Regions from separate parts of the Homo sapiens genome. Here regions 2, 3 and 4 are each linked to region 1. The links are contacts of gene promoters, found by promoter capture Hi-C in blood cells and fetal thymus (Javierre and others, 2016). All regions are on one chromosome and are shown on one strand. The core of a region is centred on a gene start or on the middle of the fragment in contact, and the rest is flanking DNA. Distances in the headings are between cores, read along the strand shown.

What was found. Contacts are between HindIII fragments. The CHiCAGO score rates a contact against its expected background, and 5 or more counts as called.
Region 2: a fragment that was not itself captured here is called in contact with the fragment with the promoter of NDUFB2 in region 1 in 2 of 17 cell types (endothelial precursors and megakaryocytes); the score reaches 5.2 in endothelial precursors.
Region 3: a fragment that was not itself captured here is called in contact with the fragment with the promoter of NDUFB2 in region 1 in 1 of 17 cell types (endothelial precursors); the score reaches 5.6 in endothelial precursors.
Region 4: a fragment that was not itself captured here is called in contact with the fragment with the promoter of NDUFB2 in region 1 in 1 of 17 cell types (endothelial precursors); the score reaches 6.3 in endothelial precursors.

The regions. Positions count from the first base shown.
Region 1 is chr7:140,694,785-140,698,962 of GRCh38, forward strand. NDUFB2 (NADH:ubiquinone oxidoreductase subunit B2) reads left to right here and starts at 1,924. Exons shown (of 4, transcript NM_004546.3): 1 at 1,924-2,058. The coding sequence starts at 1,961. NDUFB2-AS1 (NDUFB2 antisense RNA 1) reads right to left here and starts at 2,293. Exons shown (of 2, transcript NR_024454.1): 1 at 2,131-2,293; 2 at 552-2,036. ADCK2 (aarF domain containing kinase 2) reads left to right here. Exons shown (of 8, transcript NM_052853.4): 8 at 1-326. The coding sequence ends at 19. RefSeq lists an enhancer at 1,933-2,242. The HindIII fragment of the contact is 6,958 bases long and covers 958-4,178 here.
Region 2 is chr7:141,645,409-141,649,586 of GRCh38, forward strand. It overlaps AGK (acylglycerol kinase), which reads left to right. Exons shown (of 16, transcript NM_018238.4): 14 at 3,855-3,925. Among named protein-coding and RNA genes, the nearest start is that of DENND11, 55 kb to the right of the region's middle. The HindIII fragment of the contact is 2,360 bases long and covers 1,153-3,512 here.
Region 3 is chr7:141,598,097-141,602,274 of GRCh38, forward strand. It overlaps AGK (acylglycerol kinase), which reads left to right. Exons shown (of 16, transcript NM_018238.4): 5 at 3,109-3,184. Among named protein-coding and RNA genes, the nearest start is that of AGK, 49 kb to the left of the region's middle. The HindIII fragment of the contact is 2,562 bases long and covers 1,037-3,598 here.
Region 4 is chr7:141,536,817-141,540,994 of GRCh38, forward strand. The region is part of intron 1 of AGK-DT (AGK divergent transcript); the gene reads right to left. Among named protein-coding and RNA genes, the nearest start is that of AGK-DT, 12 kb to the right of the region's middle. The HindIII fragment of the contact is 2,255 bases long and covers 978-3,232 here.

The DNA of each region.
Region 1 (4,178 bases), core at 674-3,173:
CCCAGTGTGCCCCCCGTGATGGGGCAGTGGCCTCTGTGGGCCCTTGTCAAGAGCTGGAGGCCACTCCCAAGAGCCTCTCCTATGGCAGCTGGGACGTTTTAAAATTGGGACACCAATTTCAAATGTAACCCTCCAGTGGTGGAAGGCACACCATGGCTTCCTCTGCTTGGTTTGAGGGTCTGTTCAAAAGCTTTGGGCCAATTAGGGAGTAAAAGGAGGGAAGGGGCCTATCCATTCCATTGTGGAAGCTGGGCCAGGTGCCAGGGACACTCTCCTTCAGGGAAAATGTTATGTGGAGGAGGACGAATAAATTTATTTTGTTTTCCTGTTTTTCTCATTTCTTGACCCGCTATACTCCCTGGTCAGATGGGTACTGCTGGTAGTTCCCAGACTTTGATATTCAGGTTAGAAAATGCCATCAAGTCCTACTGATCTGTGGCATGTGCACACACACACACACACACACACACTCTTTATGTATAAATATCATGCAGGTGCTACCTGCCAGCATAATATACACTTAGGGCAAATTTCATTGTACTTCAAATTATCTTCTTGGTAATTTTTAATAGATTTTGCTAACTCCTTGGTAACTTTTATTACAAGGTAAAACAAAACTGATGAAAGTGGCTGACATACCGGGGACGTGAGCAGAACGGCTTGGCCACTTCCTTAACATGGCCCCGGGTTCACCCGCTAGTCCGGAACTACAGTTTCTCTGCCACAGTGTCTGCGCCTGTCCACTTGCAGGCATTAATTTTGGTGAATATGAAGAGAGTTAATATAACCAGTGTGTCCTCTTCTCCATGGCAGCGCCCAGGGACAGACCTGCAGTGACCACCACCTGCCCCTCTCTGCCAGGCCCAACCACGGGCTTTCTTCTCAGAGCTGAGCTGATGTGGCCGTCTGGCTGACTAGGAGGGGCCCGGGGTCAGCCTGGAGGGGGGGTATTTGTAAAGCTTAATTTCTCTTTTTTTTTTTTTTTAGGTAAAATCACAGTTTATCCCTGCACCTTCATAGATTATGTTGCTCGTCTTAGAGACCACCAGGCAGCGAATGGAGTCAAGCCCTTGCGCTCTCCGAGAGTCCTGCCCTGACTACAGGACTAGTTTCTCCCATTCTTTCCTTCTCCAGGATAAAGTTCCTCATTCCTGTCTTTTAGTGAGCAGTATGGTTTAGGTGGACAGAGATTCCTTTGGTGCAGTTTTTTTCAAGGAGGTGATGTTATTTTTTCCTTCCCAGGTCTTGAGGGGACATTCAAAGCAGGCAGAGAGGGGTTGGGATGGCTCCAGATGGCTGGGAGGGAGAACACCAGCTGGTCACGCAGCCCCTCGTGCCAGTGCGCATCAGGTACAGTGTGGAGGCGGGAAAGGGACAAAAAGACGGCAGTCTCTTCCCTGAGCCTATGCCAACCCAGCCTTAAAGCCAGTGGATCGAATCAAGCCATTTGTGGCATTATCTATTGCTGCGTACGAACTTAGCCTGGCACAATGCCTGTAATCCCAGCTACTCGGGAAGTTGAGGCAGGAGAATCGCTTGAGCCTGGGAGGCAGAGGTTGCAGTGAGCCGAGATGGTGTCACTGCACTCCAGCCTGGGTGACAGAGCAAGGCCTTGTCTCAAAAAGAAAAAAAAAAAAAAAAAAGAATTATACACCACTCAGTTTTAGGAGGGGCAGAACACGGGGAGAGCCCTACAGGATCAGAGGGGCAACCAACAAGCTGTTTCAGAAGGCATGGGGCAGCTCAGCAACCATAAGTTATGCGTGGGCTTTGCTCTCGGGAGAGAGGTTTCCTGCAGCCGAAGGACTCACAGCTAATCTGGGTCAGGAGCGGCTGCCGGCTCCCCCACTCCTGGAGATGAGCGACTCTGTGACGTCACGGGAGGCGCGGGCGGAGCGCCGGGGAAGCGAAGTAGGCAGGGGCGAGGCGGCTGGGGACCGCGGGGCGGACGGGAGCGAGTATGTCCGCTCTGACTCGGCTGGCGTCTTTCGCTCGCGTTGGAGGCCGCCTTTTCAGAAGCGGCTGCGCACGGACTGCTGGAGATGGTGGAGTCCGTCAGTGAGTGTGGGGCTGGGGATGGGGGCCTCGCCGGCCTGTAGCGGACAGCGCGGGTCCCTGGGACGCTCTCACCTTGACTGGGGCGCCTGAAGAGGCCGCGTCCCGAGGCATGCTGGGACCTGTAGTCCGCGTGTCTCCTGAAGCCGCGACTCGAGGAGAGGGACCCCGCTGGCCGGAGGGAGAGGGAGAGACTTCGCTGGGCAGATGGGACACCGTGTGCAGGGCCGTCATGGTAGTAGGGGCCGCCTGCCCTCGGGAGACGCACGCGTGAATGCGGAGCGGGCTGAGCCAGTCGGCGCCGGCGCGGGCGGTCCAGGCGGAGGAAGCAGCGTGCGCGGCGGGTGTGGACGCTCCTGGAGCGAGGCGGGGGGCGGCGGCGGTGAGGCCTAGGGAGGGCGCGGTCCAGGGTCCCGGTGCCTGGCTGCGGAATTTAGGGTAGAGTCTGTTCGGCAGCCTTTAATCGGAGACGTCACGTGGCCGCTTTTTAATGCTGAAAAATCACTCTGGCTGCAGGGAGTGGAGGCTGTCGCCCAGAGAGAGCGCCGTCGGGTGAGAGGAGCAGAAAGCCGGAAGCCAACGCTGGGGCAGCCGTGGCGTTTAGGAGAGTGACAGGCAGAGCCGCCCGCGAGGTGGCCCGAGACGCAGACCGGAGGGCGGAGGGCTGGGGGTGCGAGGTAGGGAGCGGGTGCGAGGTAGGGAGCAGCTGCCGAAGCCGAGTTAGTGGTGTGCAGAGATTCCGTAAGAGCAGGACTGGAAAAGAGTCATGGATGATTCCAGGTCCCTTAGATCATCAGCTACACTTTACCAAGAGGCAGTGTGGGGTCGTGATTCCAAGCGGGATTCTGGCCGCACAGTGGCTGGGTTCAAATCCCACCTCTGCCACACTCCAGCTGTGGGACCTTGGAAAAGTTTCTTATTCTCTTAATGCCTCAGTTTCCTCACCCATTTGGCGTCCATTTGCAAGGAACTAAATGAGTTACTGTTATCTAAAGCGTGTTTGTGTGTTTTAGGAGATGGGGTCTAACTCTGTCAGGCAGGCTGGAGTGCAGTGGCGCGATCCTAGCTCACTGCAGCCTCTAACTCCTGGGCTCAAGTGATTCTCCAGCCTCGGCCTCCCAAAGTGTTGGGAATACAGGCGAGCCACTGCGCTTGGTCTCACTAAAGTGTTTAAAACAATTGCTGGTGCCTGCTAAGGACCGTACAAGTATTCTTTAACTGTTGTTGTTATTAAGGAACTGAGGCCCAGGAAATGAAAGGAGTGACTTGCCTGAAGTCCCACATGGATGAAGAATCTGGAGCTGGGGCAGGTGTGGGGTGGGCAGAAGGCAAAGCCCTGTGTGACTTGGGCAAAGACAGTGATGGAGAGCCATGAGCGACAGCCCTTGGTCCTGCATGAGGAGATGGGGGAATGCCGATCTTCCCTGAGGTGCTGGCTTGTTCGTAACACACACTTGTTTCAGAGTGTGTGATAATTAAGTGCATAAATGTTTATGGAGCATCTTCTATATGGCTGCTCCTTTCTAGGTGCTGAGGATATAGCAGAATACGAGAGAGAATGAAGTGTACATTCTGGAGAGGAGAGACCAGTAGAAAAGAAAGACCTTTTTTGAGTACTGTTAAGGGTTATGAAGAGAATACAGCTGGGGATTAATATGGAGAATGCGTGGTGTGGGAGTAGAAGGGATATTGTATTTGGGGATGGCGTGGGAATGCCTGGGAGTGTGATTTGAAGCGGGACCTGAGGGATGAGAAGTCAGCCATGCAGAGACCTCAAGGGAAGAGCCCGGTGGACATAAGAGGGCAGAGGAGGCATCAGGTGGAGAGGCCAGAGCCCGCAGGGTTGGCAGGAGGCCAGGCTGGAGTGGAGCGTAGGGGAAGAGTGGGAGAGACCAGGTCACAGGGACAAGTGTGGGGGCCGGATTAGAGGGGGCTTTGGAGGACTCGGAATTTTATTCTAAGAATCACAGGGAGCCATTGGAGTTTTAAAGCAGGAAAGTAATGTGGTCTGATTTATTTTTTAAAAATGTAACTTTGTCCAGGCGCGGTGGCTCACACCTGTAATCCCAGCACTTTGAGAGGCTGAGGCGGGCGGATCACCTGAGGTCAGGAGTTCGAGACCA
Region 2 (4,178 bases), core at 1,083-3,582, 950 kb after region 1:
TTAATTATTCTAACTTTCTTTCAATGAATTCTTTCAAATTTTCTACAGATTTAGTCATGGCCAATGCAAATAGTGCAAGGTTTGTTTTCTCTCTTCAAATACTTATCCTTACAATCCTTCATTTTACTTAGAGCACTGGATAGGACCTCAGTACATGGTTAAATAGAAGTAGCAGTAACAGGAGTCCCCATCGTCTTTCTTATTTCTGATTTAGAGAGAAAGTCTTCATTGCTTCATGCTTGTATTTAATGTGCTTTCTTTTTTTATAGACACCCTTTATCAGATTAAGGCAGTTCCTTTCTATTCCCAGTTTGCTAAGCATTTTTATCTTTCATGTTAAATATCTTAGATATTTAATTTTATCAAGTACTCTTCCAGCATCTATTGAGATAATAAAGTTTCCTCATTTAATCTGTCAAAGCAATAAAATGAATTGATTTTTGAATGTTAATGTGAGACTTTTGGCCAAGATGTAGCAAAAAGCACCAGCTTTATACCTTAAACACCTTAAAAATTGGACAAAATCTTTGAAACAACTATATGAGACATTGGTATGAGACAAGCAGCATAGGACAGTGAGTCCAGAGAGCAAGAAGTTGAACACAGTGAGCCTGATGCTTGCCCGAGGTGACTGCTGGAGAGAGGCCACAGCCTGCGGAGAGGGAGCCCACACAGAGCCCATGCCCTACCTCAGTTGAGGGGTCTTTGAGAATTTGAGAAATCAAGGCAGCTAGAATTGCAAGGCAGGATACAAGAGAGCCCCATGGAGAGGAGAGCCGCACCCAGAACCAAGCTAGAGGTTTACGGAGGTGTCCTCTGGAATCTTCAGCTGAGTACTGACAGGTGCATGCATGTGAGAAACCACCACCCGAGATAGAGGTTGAGTTACCTACCAGTGAGCAGGCGGGACAGTCTCAGGAGAGTCAGTCCTCTCACAAAGCCAGGAATAGTTCGTGTTCAAACCAATTAGAGTAGAAAATCCTCTTCAGACATGGGGCATTGGGTAGTGTCCTCAGAAAGGTATTGCCTCAGTAGTGAGTCAAAATTAATTCTAGACTAAAGGCTGCCCTCTTCCCTGTTAACAAAGCTAAAGGCTCACCTCCAAAGAACCACAGTTTCTTTCTAGGTAACTTAATTGTGCCTCCAGAACAAAGCTTTAGAACAGGGGTCAGCAAAGGACAGCCCACAGGCCCGACTATCCTGCTGCCTGTATTTGTACAGCCTTGAAGCTAACAATATTTTTTACATTTTTAAATCATTGAAAAAAATCAAAAGAAGAGTATTTTTCCCCGTTACGTGTGGAAATTGTCTTCAAATTTCAGTGTCTTTAAGTCAAATTTTACTGGAACACAGGCAGGCTAATTCATTTGAGTATATTCTCTGGTTGCTTTCAGCTACTATGGCTGAGTTGAATAGCTGTGAGAGAGACCTCATGGTCTGCAAGCCTACAGTGTTCACTCTCTGGCTCTTTACAGAAAATGTTTCCCGACCCTGTTCTAGCTGAAGTGTGGCTCTCCCCTGAGTTTTGCCTTTCCCACAGTCTTTAAGCAGTGGCTGTGCTTTCTTTCTTTTCCTCCCCTTGTATGCTGGGCCTGGTGACTTGGTGGTTGTCCTCCTGACTCATCACTGCTTTAACCCATTCTTCCTCCTCCTCTCTAACTACCCCCCCACCCAGCCCCACCTCTCAATGTCCTATTGTCAGAGCAGATCATTGCTCCTGGGAGCTCCTGAACCCTGGGCCGTTCTTACACATTTATCTATAATGTTAATTCCTAGCCCACTGTCTCCCTCTCCAATCTACTCCTGTCTTAATTCTCAACACGGCAGCCAGAGTGATCCTATTGAAATGAAGCCAGAACATATTTCCCTCCTTAGAACCCTCCAGTGGCTCTCTGATTCATTCAGCCTAAAAGCCAGCTTCCTCGCCATGGTCTATGAGGCTCTGCTGATGTAGCTCCTCTCTTCCCTGTCTTCCTCACTTGTTGCCCCTGTCATTCGCTCTGCTCCAGCTACACGGGCTTCCTTGCTGTTCCCTGCTGTCAGACATGTTCCCCCAGCACCACCTGAAGGCCTCCGCCCCAGTAGTTCCCCTTGTGTGGATTGCTCATCCCCGGATTAGGGGTTCTCAAAGTCCAGTTCTCAGATCAGCACATCAGTATCACATGGAAGTTGCTCGAGATGAAAATTCATGGGCCTCACCCCAGATCTACTGAACCAGAAACTTGGGATGGGGCCAGAGTCTGAGTTAAAAAAAAATTATTTTTATTGATTGATTGATTGAGACGGAGTTTGACTCTTGTCACCCAGGCTGGAGTGCAATCGTGCGATATTGGCTCACTGCAATCTCTGCCTCCTGGGTTCTAGCGATTCTCCCGCCTCAGCCTCCCGAGTAGCTGGGATTACAGGCGCCCGCCACCACACCCGGCTAGTATTTGTACTTTTAGTAGAGACGGGGTTTCACCACGTTGGCCGGGCTGGTCTCGAACTCCTGACCTCGGCTGATCCGCCCGCCTCGGCCTCCCAAAGTGCTGAGATCACAGGCGTGAGCCACCGCGCCTGGCCAAAAATTATTTATTTTTTAGTTGACAAACAAAAACCAGAGTCTGAATGTTACCTGCTCTACAGTGGCACCTGCTAAAGTTTGAGAACCACTGCCCTGGGTGGCCACATCGCCGGCTCCCTCACCTCCTTCAGGCCTCCTCTCCAAGGCTTCTCCACGGGACCCCCTTTTTCATAACACAGCCACTGCCATCAGCGCCACCTCATGTTCCTTGCTCTGCTTCTTTGATCTTATTTTCTAATAAACTCTAATATAGTTGTGGCATCCTTATCTTCTAACAGAGTTTATAATTTACTATGATCCATCTATTCCCTCCAGTCTCTACAGTAGAAAGTAAGTTCTTTGTAGGCAGAAAGTCATGTGGGTTTTGTTCATTGGTGTAACCCAAGCTCCGTGGGTTCATGGTGCATGACTGGCACTCAGTAAGTAGTTAAATAAAAGGTGAACTTTCAAAGTCATCCACTTTATGTTTTGTAATTCTTAGTTGAGAGTTCTTTGTTAGTTACCCTTTAATCTTAGGCAAAGGCTTTAAGGCTCTCAGAGGCCTCAAATCCTGGGCCTGAACATTTTGAACCTACCCCAAAAGAAACAAGACCTCTATTTGAAGCTGACATAGAAGTTGTGGGATTGATTTACAGAGGGCTAGGTTTGTATGGCTAGTCACTGACTGGTAGCAAATTATGGGAACTGGTCCAAGAACCAAGTCTGTTTTGATAGCCATTTTGTCGTAGCTCAAATCATCCAGAGCTTTCTGTGGCTGGAAATGGAAAGTTTTTAAACATTACCATAGAATAAACGGATTGCTGTTTTCCAACTCTGGTTGCACACCAAATTTGTATGTAGAGCATTAAAGAAGCACAGGCACTTGGGCTCTCCACACCAAGCAGCCGATTCCATGCTGTCATGTGAAGCTCATGTACAGTGAACACTGAGATTGCTGGGATGGGCTGAAAGCTTGGCCTGCAAGGGAAGTAATCCTAGAGACTAGAACGGCTAATAATTACTAGTGAGTGACAGAACGTCCAGAACCTCCCACTCTGAGTTTTGTTTGCTTATGTAGTAAAAAAAAAAGCCAAGCAATGGAGATGAATTTTCTATAAATTATACCTCAGTAAAGCTCTTTGTGAAAAAAAAAAAAAAAAAGATTGAAAATAGGTTTGGAATTAAATCACTACAAGTAGAGTCCCCTATCTATATATAGCTTCAAACTATGAACCATCAAAGCTGAGGATGACAACAGGCTGCATTAGCCAAATTTTAAGAGTAATGACGTTAGTGTTCTTAACCTTTTTAGAGCAAAGAAGATTTTCTGAATATCTGCATTGAACCTGACACCATCAGCAAAGGAGACTTTATAACTATAGGGTAAGTGGACTGGGGTTCACAGGAAATGAGGCTTGTGATTTTCTCAGATTTTACTATTCAGAGTGCCCCATGAAGTCTAAGACAGAAATCCAGCCAAAGCCTTGTCTTGTTTGGGAATTTCGATGTTATTTCTTTCCTATGGGCTGACATGTAGAGTGCCCCTCTCCTATGCTGGCCATCACTGTTCATTTTGTGGGGATCAGAATGTAAGAGCAGTCTTTGTTTTTCAATTGAAACCAAAGAATTCAATGGA
Region 3 (4,178 bases), core at 1,068-3,567, 900 kb after region 1:
ATTTCTTGAGAGGCAGTGAGTGTGACTTCACAGACAGGAGGACACATCCTGCTTTATTTCTTTGTAATTCAGTGGTTTAATTCAGATTGTCTAAACAGACTATTCTGCCTAACTGAATCATATCTGCTGGGCTTTGTTAGAGCCGCTTCCCTCCCCCATAAACGCACCAGTCATAATGCCTATTGATCATTTTTGTTTAATATCAATACTAAATCATGCCAACAAATCAACAAGCCCTAATATAACACAGTCAAAATACCTAAGATAAGTAAATTGTCAGTGGTGGCCCGTGGCTGAAGATAACAGAGAACTCAGCCTGGGTCTGGGAGTTTGAGGAATCTGGTCTGTTTACTGTTTTGCCACTTACTAGCTCTATGATATTGTGGGAGTTAATTCACTTCTTAAATCCCCAGTTTACTCATCTGTAAAATCAGAAAGGCAATAGTACATACTTTAAAAATTATTATGTGGAATAGGGACCTTTGGTATTAAATGAGATAATGCTTATTAGGCACTATTTCCATTTCATAATAAGCACACAATGTAAGAAATATAAACTGCTGAAATTGTTACTCTTGACTATGGGTTAGGTTCAGAACAGTCTTCACTTCGCTATCCCATCCTTCCCAGAAGCTCTTGTACCTCTCCTTCGACCTACTTCAGTGTAACTCTTCTATTCCTTTAGAGACCTAATAAATTAACAACCTGCTAATTTCTGATGAAACTTATGGCAATTTGTTTAAGCAATAACCAGTTATTTTGAGTTCCTGCTTCTAAGAGGTATCTACATTTTTAAAATTAATAAGCAAATTTTTCAGAGCAATTTTAGGGTCTTTTTACATGTAAATATATTTGCATTTTTAAAGGTAGATTCTTGTTTAAAACTATAACATCTTTATCTAAAGGTAAGCTAAAATACTGCCACTGAAGGAAAGTCTTTTCTAAAGGTGTTGTCTCCTTTAACAAGGTGAAGAATCCCTGCGTGCTTCTGGGAAAGTCTGAAACTCTCCAGCATCCTTTCTTTTTTTCTTTTAAAAGCTTTCACTATTTAATTGCACTATTTTTGTCATCATAGCTCTGTCCTGACACATAATTTATAATTTATCATGTAGCTATTTCATTATGTAGTACTGGTTTAAAACTACATAAGAGCTTTAAGAAATAAGATAACTGTGTGTTTAGCATTAATAAATAATACATAAAAGAGTAATTATTTTTTGTATGTGCCTGAGTCTGGAAATTGCTAAAAGTACCTAAGGTTTTTATTTAGCCTCGGTGTTATCTCACCCTTAATTATGTAATAAATAATTTATTTCTTATTAGTAACACTTGTTTTTCAATCTTTTATATAGAAAATTAGAAGGAAAAAAGTCTTCACCTTCATTTTAGAGGTTTTCTGAACTTATAACATCATATAAAGATGTGAATAAAGACCCAAATATTCTAACCTGATTTCTTAAACTAACTCAGAGGAGGTTACAGATTTGTTGTGATTGATATGGCAGATTGAGACTTCTTCAGAATTTTGCTTTTAGGAAATAGATCTGATCCACTTCCAACTGATCCTTTCCTATCAATCTAGTAATGAAAGCAACCCTGGAAGGAGAATTGTTTGCAGTACCACTAGCTCAGTGCTTTAATGTTGGGTTAAGCCCCCAGAAATGGTGAGCTGGAAAGGAGAAATTATCATTTACCCTTTTATGTTCATTCTAATAATCATTCAGAGCAGTAGAAAGGTAGAAAATATTTAATTTGCTTATAATACACTCAGGCCCTTGGTTTGAGATATTCTTTTGGATGGTTCTTGTGAAAATTTGTGCAAGCCTCTCAATTTCTATTTTAATTCACAATAAGAAGTGATTTGTGTTCTATATGCCATTTGGTGGTTCTTTTTAGTTTAAAGAATATTGAGCTTGGCCTGTGCATAACTATACGTGTTCCTCATTAGCTGCCTTTGTAGCTGAATATAAAATGTCTCTTCTATAAAATATCCTTAAATTCTTGTATAAAGTATCCTTAAGGTCAAAGGATACAGCCTTAGTTTAAAAATAAGACAGAGGACTGAGTAAATGTGGATATAAAAGTTAGGTGTTTGACATTGATTGAAAGTACTGGATTTTTTTTTCCTTATGTAATAGTTGAAATATTTGAGTAAAAGGTCAACTAATTGGTATGTTTTAACATTAGTTTGACTTTGAGACTATGCCATTGGTGGAAGAGATTGTTTTGCAACTTCTGTGTCCCTGGATTCCTAGACTGTGTTTTTGAATTCTGACCTGAATTGGACAAGAGTTCACTGTCAGAATGATATGCATAATACTTTTGAAATATGCAAACTCTTTGAAGGCTGTTTTTTCTCTTCTTATAAGACATCGTGTTGTTTCCTTTTCCTCAGAATTTACATGTCTACATTTGGGGCAGGTTTATTCATTCGTTTGTGCATTAATTCATCAGATACTTAGTAAGTACTTTCTAATTGTGCCATACATAATCCTAGAGGTCAGGGGATTCAAGGATTAATAAGATTTGGTATTTATTTTTAGAACGCTTCCAGTCTAGTCCTGACAACAGTCTTGGAAGTCTCTAATCACCATACAGTATGAAAGTCACTAACAGAGATGTGTATAAGGTACTAGGGGAGCACAGAGAGGGCATGACTGTGCCTGGGAGTTTCAGACTAGCTTCTGGTGAATTAGTAGTTTGGTCTGCTTTGTTATGTTGTATTCCTAGCTCCTCCACCTGTGTCTATCACACAGTAGGTGCTCAATGAATACTTGAGTGAATCAAGCATTGTTGCCTGAATGGAACCATATCTAGTGTTCGTTCTTCCCCTAGAGGAACTACTTTGTGAACTATAAGCCTCCCAAATGGATAAGAGCTTATTGCATTAGATAAACAGCAAATTCTCAAAGGCCCCAGAGTTTAAGGTTCTATTTTTCCATTCATATTAACTCATTACTTGTTGTTAAACTTTCTGTGCTTGAACAAATAAAGGAAACCCGTATTGCATAGTCTTTCTTATTCTGCCCTGAAGAAGATTGTAAGGCTTTTTGTTCTTGCTCTTGATAACCTGTGTTAAAATGTTTATATTTTTTCCTTTGTTAACAGAAAAGCCAGGACTCTATTTGAAAAAAATGCTGCCCCGATTTTACATTTATCTGGCATGGATGTGACTATTGTTAAGGTAAGAATGGCTCCTGAATGTTTATTTCACCCAAGCAGCTGCCTCTTATAACAACCTCTTCTCTTGGCTTCTTAGCAAAAATTGCTTGTCACAAGAGCAAAGAAATTAATGTTGTATCCTGTTCTGACAATTAATAAATGTAGTTTTGTTTTTTTCCAAATAGTGTCAGCTTTTCATTTTCAGAATAGGATTGGATGGAGGCTTGGAGAACTTGACACCTTTCATCTGAGAGATAGGATGTGGAATTACATCTCTTGGAAGATGAAAGTTGTTATAGCTGTAAGAATTCTTTTCCTGAAAATACACAACCTTCAAGTCTGAGTAATTAATTTAATTTCTTAGTAGTTCCACAAACAGGTAAACCATTTTCTCTCTGGTAAGGAATTATCTTTGGTGAAGAATTTTAAATGGTAAAGCTTTAGAATTTGTGAGATTTAGTTAAGAAGAAAAGGAGGCAAGCATAAATTACAAGGAATTGTACTATTTCGAAGATGCAGGACTCTACTTGTTGAATTTTAAATGAGATATATGTGGGTAAGTACATACATGTGTATATAGTGAAAACCTCTCTTACTGTGGTTATAAGTCTGTTGACCAATTTCTAATATTGTACACTTCCAGGAAATCATAGAAGTTAAAAAGGATCATTTAGTCTAGTTTACCATGCAATGTTGAACCCTCTTTTCCAACTTTTCTGTCATGATTTTCCAGTTGTTTGCCCCCGGGGGTAGGAGAAAGGGGAAGAAAACTAACATATTTGAGTACCTGTAATGTGGCAGGTATGAGAGACCCAAGTATGGTTATGTGAGACTGATGTTTGTTTCTTCAATGATTGGTGAAACTCACAGCTAAAACCATCTGGATCTGGAGCTTTCCTTGAGGGGAGATTTTCTTGTGTGTGTGTGTGTGTGTGTGTGTGTGTGTGTGTGTGTATGTAGAGACAGGAGCTCACTATGTTGCCAAGGCTGGTCTTGAACTCCTGGACTCAAGTGAT
Region 4 (4,178 bases), core at 855-3,354, 840 kb after region 1:
AGACTCAATTTTATAAAATGATTAAATCTTAAATTGGTCTATAAATTCAACATAATCTGGATCACAAGCACAGTTTTATTTTTTGTAGACAAAAAATAAATTGACAAGATGATTCTAAACTCTGTATAGAAATTCGAAGGACTTAGAATAGCCAAAATATTTTGAGAAAAGAGAACAAAATTGAGGACTTAAACTAGCCAATTTCAAGACTTACTAAAGAGCCTTATTAATCACGATAGCATGGTATTGGCATAAAGATGGACATACAGATCAATAAAACAGAGTAAAGAATCCAGAAAAACTCCATACATACATGGTTCAATGATTTGCCAAGGTAAGTCAGTGGAAGAAAGGATGGCATTTTAAGAAATAATGTTGGGCCAGGCACCATGGCTCATGCCTGTAATCCCAGCACTTTGGGAGGACAAGGCGGGTGGACCACCTGAGGTCGGGAGTTTGAGACCAGCCTGGCCAACATAGTGAAACCCCATCTCTACTAAAAATACAAAATTAGCTGGGCATGGTGGCATGTGCCTGTAATCCCAGTTACTCAGGAGGCTGAGGCAGGAGAATCGCTTGAATACTGGAGGCAGAGATAGCAGTGAGCCGAGATCGCACCATTGCACTCTAGCCTGGGCGACAAGAGAGAAACTCCATTTCAAAAAGAAAAAAAAAAAAAAAAAGGAAGAAAAGAAAGAAAAGAAAAGAAAAGAAAAGAAATAACATTGGAACAACTGAAGAGAGGCATATGGGAAAAAGAACCTCAACCCCTACCTCACACAGTTCACAAATATTAACTTAAAATAGGTAATAGACCTAACCAAAAAATAAAAATAAAAATTATAAAACTTCTGCAAGAAAAAAAAAATCGGAGAAATCGGAATGATATTGCATTAAGCAAAAAACTCTTAAATGGGCCCTACAAATATGAACTATAAAAGAAAAAAAATCAATAAATTGTACTTCACCAAATGTAAAGCTTTTGCTTTTCAAAAAGCACTGTTATAAAAATAAAGCACAACATAGACTGGAAGAAAATATTTGCAAAATATATCTGAAAGGGATTTGTATCTAAAATATATAAAGAACTTTAACAATTCAATAAGAAGAATTTTTTAAATGGGCAAAACATTTCAACAGATGCTTTGTCAATATCTTCCACAGATGATTAGATATATTAGGATGTCTTCAGTTTTAAAACTAACATACCAAGTGCTGGTGAGGATGTGGAGCCATTGGAAGTCTCATATCCTGCTTCCAGGAATGTAAAGGAGTGCAACCAGTTTGGAAACTAGTTTGACAGTGTCTTAAGAAATTAAACACACTTACATAAAACCCAGCCATCACTTTCCTATGTATTTACCCAAAAGAAATAAAAACATAAACATATATCACAAAAAGACTTGTATACAAATGTTGAATGCACCTTTGTTTATAATGGCAAAAAGCCTGAAACAACCTAAATGTCTGTCAACAGGTGAATGAATGAAAAAAATTGCAGTAAACCCATGCAATGGGCTACTAGTCATCAATAAGAGCAAACTACTGAAGCACACAATGGATAAATCTTAAAAAAAAAAAAAACCGTGTTGAGAGAAAAGCCAGAAACAAAAGGTTCTATATTGTACAATTCCATTTATGTAAAACTCTAAAAGATACAAATTAACATACAGTGGTAGAAAGAAGATTAGTGATTGGCTGGTGTTGGGGTGGACTGAGGGAATGTAGGAACTGACTGGAAAAGAATAAGAGAACACTTGGGTGGCAATGGAAATGTCTGTATCTTCATTGTGGCCAGTATAGGAACATACGCATTTATCAAAAGTCATCAATCTGCACACTAAAAATGGGTGCATTTCGTTGTATGTAAATGTTATGCCAATAAGATTTATTTTAAAAATTGTAGTGGGAATGCAAGGAGAAGAAAGGGGGTAATTTTGGTATATTTCTATGTTAGAGTGGGCAGATTTTGAGTAGGTTTATATGCTAAGAGGAAAAGACAGTGGAGATGGAGGGAGAAAATACCAGAGTGAGGAAAGGACTGATGAGGCAGATTTCTCGGGGACGGGAAGATGGGGGTGCCATCCCAAGCACGGGTGGATGGATGAGCTGTGGATGGGAGGAGTGAACATAAGCTCCCTGAGTCTGCAGCAGAGGAAAGTGGTTGTACTATTAAGTTTGAACAAAGACAAATGTAATTTTGTATGTGGGAGGGCAGAAAGCAAAGGAAGTTCATGGCTCATTCAATCATTCAACCTTTATTTATTTTATGCCAGGCACTTTATAAATAAAGATATGGATATTCTGTAAGAAAGAATAATACTGTTTCTGCTCTCATATAATTTAGAATACAGTAGATGGGGGGCATTAAACAATTAAAGAACTAAATACATAATTACAGATTATTATGAATGCCATACAGGTTAAGGAATCTATTAAAGAGGGCAACAGAAGGAACCTAATTTAAACAGATGGCTCAGGGAAGGTCTCTTGAGTGAAGCCACCTTTCAGCTGAGAGGAGGAAGGTGAGAAGGAGTTAGGTGATAAGTGAATGGAATGGCTTCAGTGAAGACCTTAAGGTTGGACAGATTTGGGTACATTTTGATACAGAACAATAATTATATGTGAGTTTTAAGAGATTAATATAAAAAATGAAACCATAGAAAACTCCAAGAAAATATAAATAAATTTTGATCACTAGATAGAGGACTCTCCAAGAATATGCCTGAGATTTAACTACATAAAATTCAAGAGGTTTTTTTCTTTACTTTTATTTCGAAACATATTGTAAACCAAGTGCTAAATATTTGCAACAAATAAGTCAAAGGATTACCATCCTTACTACATAAAGAGCATGTATCAAACTGACAAGAAAAGCATTAAAACATCAACAGAATCCAGTTAGTAGATCATCCTTCTAAAATGATTGATCCTTTAGTCATTTAGGTAAGTTTATAGAATTTTAAAAATAAAAATAAACATAAAAAGCAAGTTGGGAAAATAGAATAAAAATACAAGTAAAAGACAGGCAAATTTCTATGGAAGAGGAAAATGGCTGGATAGATGAAAAAATAGTTTTACTCATAACCAAAGAAATTTAAACTGAAAAAATGAAATACTATTTTCCCAGCAATTAAATAAGTAGACATTGGGCAAAACAATACTTATTGATGGCAAGGGTGCTATGAGAGGCACTATCCAGTGAAGATAGTGGGAACATAAATTGGTTATAAGCTTTTAATTAAAAAATTTGGAAAAATGCATCTGGAACCTCAAATATATTTCCTCTGATTCATTAATTCTAGTTTTAAAAACTAACCCTACATTTATAATAAATGACGTCAATTATTTAAATTTTTTAAGTTAAAATCTTAATGGGTAGTCATTCAACAGTAAAGGAATAGACCAGGTGAGATGACTCACTCCTGTAATCCCAGGACTTTGGGAGGCTGAGGCGGGCAGATCAGTTGAGGTCAGGAGTTCGAGACCAGCCTGGCCAACATGGTGAAACACTGCCTCTACTAAAAAAATACAAAAATTAGCCAGACGTGGTGGCACGTCCCTGTAATCCTAGCTACTGGAGAGGCTGAGGCAGGAGAATCACTTGAACCTGGGAGGTGGAGGTTGCAGTGAGCTGAGATCGTGCCAGCCCCACTGCACTCCAGCCTGGGCAGCAGAGTGAGACTCCATTTCCAAAACAAAAACAAAACAGTGAAGGAATAAACAGTGATATATTCAATATTGAAAATATTATGATCTATGGTCATTGGAACAATGTGGCCCTAAGGACAAGGGACTTTTACTACCATACCAATCCCAAAGACATCACACTGGCTAGTCCACTGCATTAATGCATCAGAGTAGGGGAAGGGCGCTGTGCACTGCACCTTCTACCAAAAGAAGGCACATGTTTTCGAGGCAGCAAGTATAAGATTTGTGTGTGCTCCAGTACCCACTTGAGAGGTGAATGAAAAGCTACCAGGTTTCAGTGAGCTCAGAGCATGAGAAGATTCCTCTGCTGATCAGATATGATCTGATTTTGTCCTTTAGATCTAATCATGCTTCCAGTGTCTACAGACAGCTCAGCTTACAGTAAGACCCCATGAAGGATTCACAGACTTGGTTTTGGTCATGCTTTGCCAGAACCACTGTCTGGGGACTTACGGTAGGTCTTATAA